Linked DNA regions of Homo sapiens: regions 1 and 3 are each linked to region 2. The links are contacts of gene promoters, found by promoter capture Hi-C in blood cells and fetal thymus (Javierre and others, 2016). All regions are on one chromosome and are shown on one strand. The core of a region is centred on a gene start or on the middle of the fragment in contact, and the rest is flanking DNA. Distances in the headings are between cores, read along the strand shown. Region 1 overlaps ARHGAP27 (Rho GTPase activating protein 27). Region 2 holds the start of SPATA32 (spermatogenesis associated 32). Region 3 overlaps PLCD3 (phospholipase C delta 3).

Region 1 (3,379 bases), core at 340-2,839, 140 kb before region 2:
CCCTGAAGTATTGTGTATGCTTAGAAAATAGTAGTAATTGGCCAGGTGCGGTGGCTCACACCTGTAATCCCAGCACTTTGGGAGGCCCTGGTGGGCGGATCACCTGAGGTCAGGAGTTCAAGACCAGCCTGGCCAACAGGGCAAAACCCCATCTCTACTAAAATACAAAAATTAGCCAGGCGTGGTGGTGCGTGCCTGCAATGCCAGCTACTTGGGAGGCTGAGGCATGAGAATCGCTTGAACCCAGGAGGCGGAGGTTGCAGTGAGCCGAGATCACACCATTCCACTCCAGTCTGGACGACAGAGCGAGACTCCATCTCAAAAAAAAAAAAAGAAAAAAAAGAAAAAGAAAAAGAAAAGAAAAGAAAATAGTAGTAATCTCCGTATGCCATGCTGCTGCCTGGGGTTTGAGAATGTAGTCATCTGTCCCTCTGTGGGGCCAAGGGTGCTGGGCTGAATGTGGGGGCACGGGGATGGGGGGAATCTCAGGAAAAGGCTGGAACCTGGCACCTCAGCTGAATCCTGAAGAAGGAATTGGAGTCAGCCAGGCAAAAAAAGGGGTGGAGATGGGCCTGGGCAGGCTGCAGATGAGCCTAGGCCTGGAGGAAACACAGCAGGGACGGTGGGGACCTCTAGCAACTGGTGCTACTGGAGCTTAAAGTTCAAGGCAAGGGGCAAGGAGTGGCAGGAAATAATAGTGGAAGCACAGGCCGGTGAGGGACGGTCTCTTGTGCCTGGTTAAGGGCTTAGACTTTGCCCTGCAGCCAGCAGGGAGCTCTGAGGTGTGAATCAGGAGAGCCTCTGTTCCGGGAGGCTTACGCATGGCTAGGTTTATGTTCTATGTGATTGAACCCCCAGCTGCCCTCACTCTCCTTTGGGGTGGAGTAAAACAATTCACCTCTCTTTGCCCCTCCATTCTCCAGCCCATCTGGCTGTCCTGTCTCCCTCTCTTGTCTGGAATTGGTTCTGACACCTGCAAACTTCACCTTGGAAAGTTCAGTCCCCAAATCCAGACAGGGTGCTGATTCCAATCCCAGAGCTTTCTGGGCTGAGAGTGGGGTGGGGTGGGAGCTCTCAGTGGAGCTGTAAGAATGCAGCTTGAATCCAGGAGGTGGTGGTTGCAGTGAGCCAAGATTGCGCCACTGCACTCCAGCCTGGGTGACAGAGCTAGACCCCATCTCAAAAAAAAGAATGCAGCAGGGCCCTGAATGGGCACCATAAACAGGGGCACGCCCCAGACCACTTCTCAGTTCCTGCCCAACCTCTGACTTGCCTCTGTGAGTGCACAGTTGTGAGAACTGGGTTATCGATGTTTTATTATTATTGATAAATATAATTAATGTAATTGACCCACCCGTCTGGGGCACTAAATACTTTACAAAGTACTTTCAAGAGCATTTCCTCATTCACTCTTCACTACAGTTTCCGGAATGGACAGAGCAGACATTTTACACCCAGGAAACTGAGGCAGAGAGGTAGTGTGACTTCCTGAAGGTCGCCCAAGGGGCTAAAGCTCAAGAAGAGGCCACTTCTAACAGGCACTTCCCCTTTCAAGGAGTTTACGGCTTAGTGATGGTGTCACAGTGAGCAGAAGAACTTACGTGATTTTTAAAATGCTTTGTTGTACAAAATTTTGAGGCTGCAGAAAAGTTTAAAGAAAATAAAGCGAAAACAAATAAACCCCTATAATCGCACTGCCCAGAGGGGACCTCTGTTACCATTTTGGAAGGTTTCTGAAAACACAAAATTCCTCCTTTCTCCTCCCGCAGGTGGACGACCCACCGGAGCCCGTGTACGCGAACATAGAGAGGCAGCCCCGGGCCACTTCACCGGGCGCCGCTGCAGCCCCCCTTCCCAGCCCGGTGTGGGAGACGCACACGGACGCGGGCACCGGGCGCCCCTACTACTACAACCCAGACACGGGAGTTACCACCTGGGAGTCGCCCTTTGAGGCTGCCGAGGGTGCCGCCAGCCCAGCCACCTCCCCTGCCTCGGTGGACAGCCACGTGAGCCTTGAGACCGAGTGGGGCCAGTACTGGGATGAGGAGAGCCGCAGGGTGTTCTTCTACAACCCGCTGACGGGCGAGACGGCCTGGGAGGACGAGGCCGAGAACGAGCCCGAGGAGGAGTTGGAGATGCAGCCGGGCCTGAGCCCTGGCAGCCCAGGGGACCCGCGGGTGAGGGGCAGGGCCAGAGTGGGCGGTTCTACCTCTGAGCGCCTCTGATCCCGCCTCCTGCTCCCAGAGGCCCAGGGACACACGGGTGAGGGGGTGGTGATGGGTGGGCGGGGCTACCTCTGAGAGCCTTTGACCCCTTCTCCTGCTCCCACAGACCCAGGGACCCCAGGGTGAAGGGCGGGGCTGGAGTGGGCGGGGCTACCTCTGAGCGCCTTTGACCCCACCTCCTGCTCCCACAGACCTAAGGACCAGAGGGTGAGGGGTGGGGCAGGATGGGTGGGGCTACCTCTAAGCGCTTCTGACCCCGCCTCCTGTTTCTGCAGACCCAGGGACCAGAAGGTGAGGGGCAGGGCTGGAGTGGGCGGGGCTACCTCTGACGCCTTCTGCTCCCACAGCCCCAGGGACCAGAGGGTGAGGTGCGGAGCTACCTCTGAGCGCTTCTGACCCCGCCTCCTGCTCCCACAGCCTCAGGGACCAGAAGGCAAGGGGGTGGGCCTGGTCCAAAACGGCAGGGCCAGCAGGCAGTACTGGCACTCAGAGCCTCTGACTCCACCTTCTGTTCCCCGCAGCCCCCCACTCCCGAGACGGACTACCCCGAGTCGCTGACCAGTTACCCCGAGGAGGACTATTCTCCCGTGGGCTCTTTCGGTGAGCCCGGCCCTACCTCTCCCTTGACCACACCCCCCGGCTGGTCTTGTCATGTCAGCCAGGACAAGCAGATGCTCTACACCAACCACTTCACTCAGGAGCAGGTAGGGGCAGGGGGCAGATGGACCCGGACAGCCTCAGAGTCCTCCCCACAACCTTCCTCACTAATAGGTCGCCTCAGTGCTCTAAACCGCAGCTCCCACACAGAGCCTAAACCAGCCAAACACAGTCACCTGCACCTGCCCCTCCAGACTCCCTGGTGCTGTCTTGGAACCTGGTTAGAGGGAAACTTTTCCTCCCCTCTCATAAGCTGGGCTGGAGGCCCTGACCATTCCTCTCCCCACAGTGGGTGAGGCTGGAGGACCCCCACGGGAAGCCATACTTCTACAATCCAGAGGACTCCTCTGTTCGATGGGAGCTGCCCCAGGTAACAACCTGGGGAAAGGGGGGTGTTGGGGAGAGAGGAAGAGATCATATACGACTGTGTCTTTCTCCCCAGGTCCCTGTCCCTGCCCCTCGAAGCATCCATAAATCCAGCCAGGATGGTGACACCC
Region 2 (3,445 bases), core at 462-2,961:
CCTGACAGGAACAGTCTGTGGATGGACATGATCAGTGCTAAGGAAAGCAGCAGAGAGAGACGCTCCGGCGCCCCAGCCCCACTATCAGTGTCCAGCGTGCTGGTTCCCCAGAGCACAGCTCAGCATCACACTGACACTCACCCTGCCCTGCCCCTGGCCAGAGGGTACTGCCGACGGCACTTTGCACTCTGATGACCTCAAAGCACTTTCATGGCTGCCCTCTGGCAGGGCAGGGCAGGGCAGTGACACTGTAGGAGCATAGCAAGCCAGGAGATGGGGTGAAGGGACACAGTCTTGAGCTGTCCACATGCATGTGACTCCTCAAACCTCTTCCAGATTTCTCTAAGAATAGCACCCCCTTCCCCATTGCCCCAGCTTAGCCTCTTCTCCCAGGGGAGCTACTCAGGACTCACGTAGCATTAAATCAGCTGTGAATCGTCAGGGGGTGTCTGCTAGCCTCAACCTCCTGGGGCAGGGGACGCCGAGACTCCGTGGGAGAAGCTCATTCCCACATCTTGCCAAGACAGCCTTTGTCCAGCTGTCCACATTGAGTCAGACTGCTCCCGGGGAGAGAGCCCCGGCCCCCAGCACATAAAGAACTGCAGCCTTGGTACTGCAGAGTCTGGGTTGTAGAGAACTCTTTGTAAGCAATAAAGTTTGGGGTGATGACAAATGTTTCCAGGCCATCGGTGTCCTCTCTCTTGCCTGCCGGCCTGCTGAACCTCACGACCCTAACAGCTGCCTCTCTTTGCCTTCTTGCTGAGATCTTTTCAAGTCCCCCTTGTTTTGGACAAGGACTGTTTCAGCCCTTGAGTGGGGCTGCTTTCCCACCACTCCTCCCAGTGGCTGCTTCTAGTCCCAACGCTGGGCTAGTCATTCAGACCAGTTAGGCAAGATACCTTGCCCGGTGGCATCAGGGAAGTCCCTCGCCAAAATATGCCAGGCTGAGGGGTGGAGGAGGAGGACAACAAAGCCTGCATGCTTTGTGCCACTGCCCAAGTTAGGCAGCCCCCTACCACCAGAAGGGAAATAGGGATGGGTTCTGGGCCCTGACCATCCAGGGATGCCGGATGCACACCACAGGCCCTCCACCCTCCCCTCCTGTCCTTGAGGCCTGGACTCTTAACCCTTTCCGCTGCCTCCTGAGCCCTGCATGGGGCCAGGGATGCCTTTGTGGGCTGAGTTCCTTGGTCATGGAGCTGGGGCACACGGGGTGCTGAGTTCCTTGGTCATGGAGCTGGGGCACACGGGGTGCTGAGTTCCTTGGTCATGGAGCTGGGGCACACGGGGTGCCTTATCGAATCTGGCTCCACACTCCCTGTGTGCACAAGTGTGTGTGCGCGCGGCTTGGGTTGGTTTAGCCGGTTCTTGGAAGGGCCCTGGGACCACGAAAAGGGCGGCAGCCCTGAGCCGCTGGCGTGCAGAGCGGGTGCAAGTCCTGTCCAGCACAGCCAGGCTTACCTGCCGCCTGCCTCTCGCTCTAGGCCCGCTGCGGAAGCGCGAGCCCCACCCCCGAGGTCTTCGGAGAGGAAGGAGTTCTGGCTTCGGGCCCGCAGCCTTCGGAGGACGCCTCACTCGGGCCGTCCCCCGTCCGCCCGCCCGAAACCTAAATGCGGCTCCCTGCCTGTGGGGTCGCGGCGGGGACGTCACAGAGGCGGCGACATCACAGGCACCGGCGCCTCTAATATTTCCAGCGCCCACCAGTCCCTCAGCCAAAGAGCACACTGGAGGCGGAGAGGCAGCATCCACCAGCCCGCTCCCCGCCTCCAGGACAGAGCCTCGGTCTGCATGGGGGTGACAGGTGGGAGCGGCCGAGCGCCCGGGGGCGAGGGTTGGGGCAGGCGGGGAAAGCGAAAGTGAGAGGGGGAGGGGCGCGAAGGGGGCGGTCAGGAATCCGCCCAGGGCCCGTTCCCCTGCTCCCAAACCCCCGGCACCTGAAAGGCAGGTCGACCCGCCGCCAAAGCCCACCCGGTGCCCCTGACTACGGCTCCCAGCCTCAGCCCCTGCGCGGTGCACACCCATGTGCTCTCACGGACACGCATGCGCGCCTTGGAGTAGGGACTGCAGAGTCAGTGGTTCTTGAAGGGGTTCTGAGACCACAGAAGGAGCAATGGCCTTGTGCACAGGAAACGACTCATGAATTATCCTGAACTGCAGATCCAAAAAATCACATCCAGTTGTCCCTCCTTGATGCTTGAGGCTTTGCAGGGAGGAGCGGCAGTCTTCAGCACATTTTTACGGAGCGCTTCGTTGATGCCTTGTACTCTTCTCTGAACCAATGAGCAAAGATGTTTGCCCCCAGTGCCCTGTGTCTCCCCTTCCCATAGGGGCGTCAGATCCCCCACTGAAATGGTGGCTTTCTTTTGGGGATCCTCTCTCCCAGAAGGGCATGGGCCAGCATTAAAAACGGTCAAAAATTAGGTGGGCATGATGGCTCAACGCCTGCAATCCCAACACTTCGGGAGGCAGAGGTGGGAGGATCACATGAGGCCAGGAGTTCAAGATCAGCCTAGGCAACATAGCGAGACTTTGTCCTCTACAGGAAATGTTTAAAATTAGACAGGTGTGGCGGCATGAGCCTGTAGTCCCAGCTACTTGGGAGGCTGAGCTGGGAGGCTCACTGGAGCCCAGGAGTTGCAGTGAGCTATGATGCTGCCACTCCAGCCTGGGCCACAGAGCAAGACCCTGTCAAAAAAAAAAAAAAAAAAACCAGAGGTCGGGTGCAGTGGCTCACGCCTGTAAGGTAAAACGTAGATTAGACAGCCAGGTCTGTCATGGAGAGGATTACACTGATTATTTGAATTGGGCTTTCAGGCATGAGTAGGACTTTGCCAGAAGAAGGCTTTCCAGGTATAAGAAATAGCATTTGCAAAGGCACTGGGTGCAGAAAGGCCTGCGGTACTCTGGGGGTAGCTTCGGCTTAGGGTGAGGGACAGGAAGCTGGATGCCAAGAGATGAAAAATGAAGGTAGAGATCAGACCAAGAGGCCACATGGAGTCTGGGGGTAACCGGAGACAAGTGAGATGTAGCAGGCTCACTCTGAGGTCATTGAAAATCCAGGTTGGAGGGGGACATAGTTGCAGTGGTCCCACTGGAAGACTAAAGAGATTTAAGACAGTGCAGTGAGTAGCATCCCAGAGTTTGGAGCCAGCCAGACCTGCCTTTGGGTCGTGTGCTGCTCTTAATAGCTGCATGACCTCATACACGTTTCCTCATCTGTGAGAGGAGAGCCGTGGCCAACTGGGCATAGGGTAGGTATGAAGACTGAATGTGCAAAGCACTCAGCACCAAGTGCCAAAGGGTAGGAAGTCATGGGTGTGTGCTGGCTCTGGTACTGGGAGATGAGGACAGCATCAGGGGTAGGAGGGCAGTAGCTGCGGAGGGAGGAGGAGTCACAAATGACCCAGGTTTCTCATTTGGGTGAAAGGATGAAGGATGAATAGGG
Region 3 (3,673 bases), core at 383-2,882, 140 kb after region 2:
AACCCTGACCTGCGAGGCCTCTGCCCTGCGAGGCCTCTGTCCTGAACTCTGGACAGATGGGGCAGAGCTGGGGATAGAATTCACTTAGTCCCCCCATCTGTCCGTCTACCTGTCTGCCCCTTCAGTCAACACTAGCTGGTATCCTGGCTCTGGGATGAGCACTGTGGTGAGGAGATAAGACCTCATTCCGCCCTCAGATTTATTAAAGTATATAGGTGGGTTTTGTGTTTTATTTTAATTAAAGCAAAAAGTGCTGTTAGTGGTCAGAGAGGGAGAATGTCCACTTGAGGACAAATCAAGGAAGGGTTCCTGGAGGAGGTGATATCTGAACTGGTCCTTCAAGGACTCAGATAGGAGGAAGAGAAGGGAGAAGGATCCTACAAAAGGGTCCAAGAGAGGGTGAGAGGAGATGGTCCAGAGATATAGACTCAATTCCTTAGGTCAGAATTTGCAATTGGGCAAGCCAGGGCCTTGGGGTCACAAAGCCAAACCCAGTATTAGGGGCTTGTCGAAATAAAGGGAGGAAGAGAGGCCCTCTGTCTTACTTCTTTTGGCCCACACAGGGGTTATTGATTTTTATTTTTTTTCAATTTGATTTCGTTGTCAACATTAGAATATCTGGAGGCTTCACACACAGATCTATATTCGGTTCTCTGGAAACTCTGGGCCCTCATTCACTCCGGGCTGTGCCCCACCTCCAAAGGCCATGGACTCTCCGTTTACCCAGTTCCCACCTCCTCTATTGTCCTCTGACTCAAAAATCTTTGGTTGTGACTCTCGTTGAGGCATTGTAGAGCAGGGTGTGGCACTGTTTGGGCTGGGCATCACGTGTTCCAGGGGGCCAGAGCCAGGAGAGGGCCGAAACTCTCCGGGGCACAGTGTCGGTCACGCTGTAGAAACCTCTGAATTTTGGATTTTGCAGCAGGTATGATTGTGGTCTCCATTTTATGGATGGAGAACATGAGGCTTAGTGACAGGTTAGTGCCACTGGGGCCATGTATTAAATAACTGGGAAGTGACAGTGTTGAGACTTACTCCCCAGACTTCGGAATTTAGAAGCACTAGAAGAGCCGTGCAGTGCAGGGCCAAAGGTCAGAGGCGCTGGACCCCGACCTCCAGAGCCCAAAGTGGCTTCTACCAGTATGGAATTCTGACAACTTACTTAAGCTTCCCTGAGCCTCAGTTTCCTTGTCTATTAGTACATGAGCAGGGCCTGCACACAGGAGATGCTTTTATTTATTTATTTTTTAGAGACAGAGTCTCACTCTGTTGCCCAAGCTGGAGTGCAGTGGCGCAATCTTGGCTCACTGCAACCTCCGCCTCCCGGATTCAAGTGATTCTCATGCCTCAGCCTCCCATGCCTGGAGATCAGCTGGGCAGGGCTGATCCTGGAGTCCTTGGCCTGTGACCCTGGAGCCAGGGTGGCCTCTGCTGTCCTCCTTGTCTTTGGGAAAGCAGAGGCAAGGTGCTTGGGTTACAGCAAGAGAGATCTAGGTTAGATGGTGAGACCTTCCTGATGGCTACGGTTTCACATCAAGGGAAAAAGGCTGTTGGTGGCAAATTCTGGACTTGAAGGCTGGAAGCCATGTGGTGGGGGATAGTGGCAGAAAAGGCAATTTTTTTTTTTTTTTGTTAAGACGCAGTCTCACTCTGTCGCTTAGGCTGCAGTGCAGTGGCACAATCTTGGCTCATGGCAACCTCAGCCTCCTAAGTAGCTGGGATTACAGGCATGTGCCACCACACCCAGCTAATTTTGTATTTTTAGTAGAGGTGGGGTTGCACCATGTTGGCCAGGCTGGTCTCGAACTCCCGACCTCAAGTGATCCACCCACCTCGGCCTCCCAAGTGCTGAGATTATAGGCGTGAGCCACCGCGCCCTGCCAGAAAGGGCAACCTTTAGTGAGGCCTGAGTCCCAGGCATTGTCCGAGGGCAGTTCCACACTGAGGGACTGCAGAGGCCGCTGCTTGGAAGGAAGGAGGGAGATGGGGTACGGGTTGGGGGGCGTTTAGGGCTCCAAAGCCTAAAGCCAAACCCAGTGCAGGAGGCTTCTTACAATCGGGGAGGAGGGGAGTCCTGTGAGGGGGAGGGAAGCTTACTGTGGGATGAAGGCCTGGGTTTGGAGAGGCTGGAGGATGGGGCAGCAGGTCCTAGCGGGGGAGGGCAGGGGAGCCTCTGGGCAGGTACGGCCTGACGCCCCGGGTCCTCCCGCCCCGCCAGGCCTGACGGAGGACGAGGACGTGCGCGCCATGCTGCGGGGCTCCCGGCTCCGCAAGATCCGCTCGCGCACGTGGCACAAGGAGCGGCTGTACCGGCTGCAGGAGGACGGCCTGAGCGTGTGGTTCCAGCGGCGCATCCCGCGTGCGCCATCGCAGCACATCTGTGAGAGGCCGGGGAGCGCCGGGCGGACAGGGAGGTGGGGACAGGCCCGGTCCTCCGCCCTGACCCGGCCCTCCTCTCAGTCTTCGTGCAGCACATCGAGGCGGTCCGCGAGGGCCACCAGTCCGAGGGCCTGCGGCGCTTCGGGGGTGCCTTCGCGCCAGCGCGCTGCCTCACCATCGCCTTCAAGGGCCGCCGCAAGAACCTGGACCTGGCGGCGCCCACGGCTGAGGAAGCGCAGCGCTGGGTGCGCGGTCTGACCAAGCTCCGCGCGCGCCTGGACGCCATGAGCCAGCGCGAGCGGCTAGACCAATATCCTGCCGGGGCTGGGAGGGAGGGCCCCATCCTTGGAGAGCCCTAACCTTGGAGAGCCCCATCCTTGGAGAGCCCCCACGCCCAGGGAAGGCAGGGCCCTGTCCTGAGGGCGCACGGTCTGGGTCGGAGCCCTTGGTCTTCGAAACTGAGGGTGGGGACACGCGCCCTGGCTAGGCCCAAGCTCCCACCAGGAGGGGTGGCGCGGCGCCTCCTTCAGGGAGGCCTGAGGCCTTCTGAGGGTGAAGACAGGGCCTCCTGTCTTTGGTAAGCCCCAGTCCTGCGGAGGAGACACTGCTACCGTGCTCGGGGAGTGCACAGGCCAAGGGGAAAGTACAGCCCCTAAACTGGGGATCCCCCAGACCCAGGTGGGGGTGACTTACCAGCCAGTTACCTGAGGGCTGGGGGCAGCCTGGCGTGTTGCTGTTATTTCCTGAGCACCCACACCTGGATCCACTCCTATCTGCACCGGGCTGACTCCAACCAGGACAGCAAGATGAGCTTCAAGGAGATCAAGAGCCTGCTGAGAATGGTCAACGTGGACATGAACGACATGTACGCCTACCTCCTCTTCAAGGTGGGCTTCCGCCCTGAACCCCAGCCCCTGGCTCTGCCATCACTCTGACCTCTGCCTGCCCCCAGCCATCTGAATCATCAGCTCCCCTGCCCTCTCCACCTGCAGCTTTTTTGGAGCGAGCAGCCTTTCCCTGCACAAAGGCAACATCTGGGGTTAGTTAGCCTTTTGCCTCCCCTGAGGCCACTGGGCCAGGAAGGGAGTGGGGAGCCGGGGCCCAGAACTTTCCTCATCCTCAGTTCCTACCCCTCCAAAGTGAGCAGCAAAGCTGTTTTCATTTCCCTGAGTCTGCAAGGCACCTTTTGCACGTGGGGGCACAGGCAGGAGCCAGCCTACAGGTGTGCATGTGCACGGATACACGTGTGCACCCTTCTCCACGCAGACCCTCCACTGTGGCACGTGTTGGCACC

The links. The method cuts DNA at HindIII sites, captures the fragments that hold promoters and counts their contacts. A CHiCAGO score of 5 or more calls a contact.
Region 1: a fragment that was not itself captured here is called in contact with the fragment with the promoter of SPATA32 in region 2 in 15 of 17 cell types (activated CD4 T cells, monocytes, non-activated CD4 T cells and 12 more); the score reaches 12.1 in activated CD4 T cells.
Region 3: a contact is called between a fragment that was not itself captured here and the fragment with the promoter of SPATA32 in region 2, in 1 of 17 cell types (neutrophils). The highest score is 6.5, in neutrophils.

What each region holds. Positions count from the first base shown.
Region 1 is chr17:45,404,474-45,407,852 of GRCh38, reverse strand. ARHGAP27 (Rho GTPase activating protein 27) reads left to right here. Exons shown (of 20, transcript NM_001282290.2): 5 at 1,770-2,177; 6 at 2,747-2,929; 7 at 3,172-3,252; 8 at 3,325-3,379. Among named protein-coding and RNA genes, the nearest start is that of ARHGAP27, 27 kb to the left of the region's middle. The HindIII fragment of the contact is 9,114 bases long and covers 1-3,379 here.
Region 2 is chr17:45,260,360-45,263,804 of GRCh38, reverse strand. It overlaps SPATA32 (spermatogenesis associated 32), which reads left to right and starts at 1,711. Exons shown (of 5, transcript NM_152343.3): 1 at 1,711-1,801. The coding sequence starts at 1,789. It overlaps MAP3K14 (mitogen-activated protein kinase kinase kinase 14), which reads left to right. Exons shown (of 16, transcript NM_003954.5): 16 at 1-686. All of the region lies in intron 2 of MAP3K14-AS1 (MAP3K14 antisense RNA 1), which reads right to left. RefSeq lists enhancers at 670-1,273, 1,708-1,797, 1,274-1,879 and silencers at 1,828-1,877, 1,948-2,067. The HindIII fragment of the contact is 9,151 bases long and covers 1-3,445 here.
Region 3 is chr17:45,119,918-45,123,590 of GRCh38, reverse strand. PLCD3 (phospholipase C delta 3) reads left to right here. Exons shown (of 15, transcript NM_133373.5): 2 at 2,219-2,380; 3 at 2,461-2,689; 4 at 3,137-3,266. Among named protein-coding and RNA genes, the nearest start is that of MIR6784, 7.3 kb to the right of the region's middle. RefSeq lists an enhancer at 2,285-2,822. The HindIII fragment of the contact is 925 bases long and covers 1,170-2,094 here.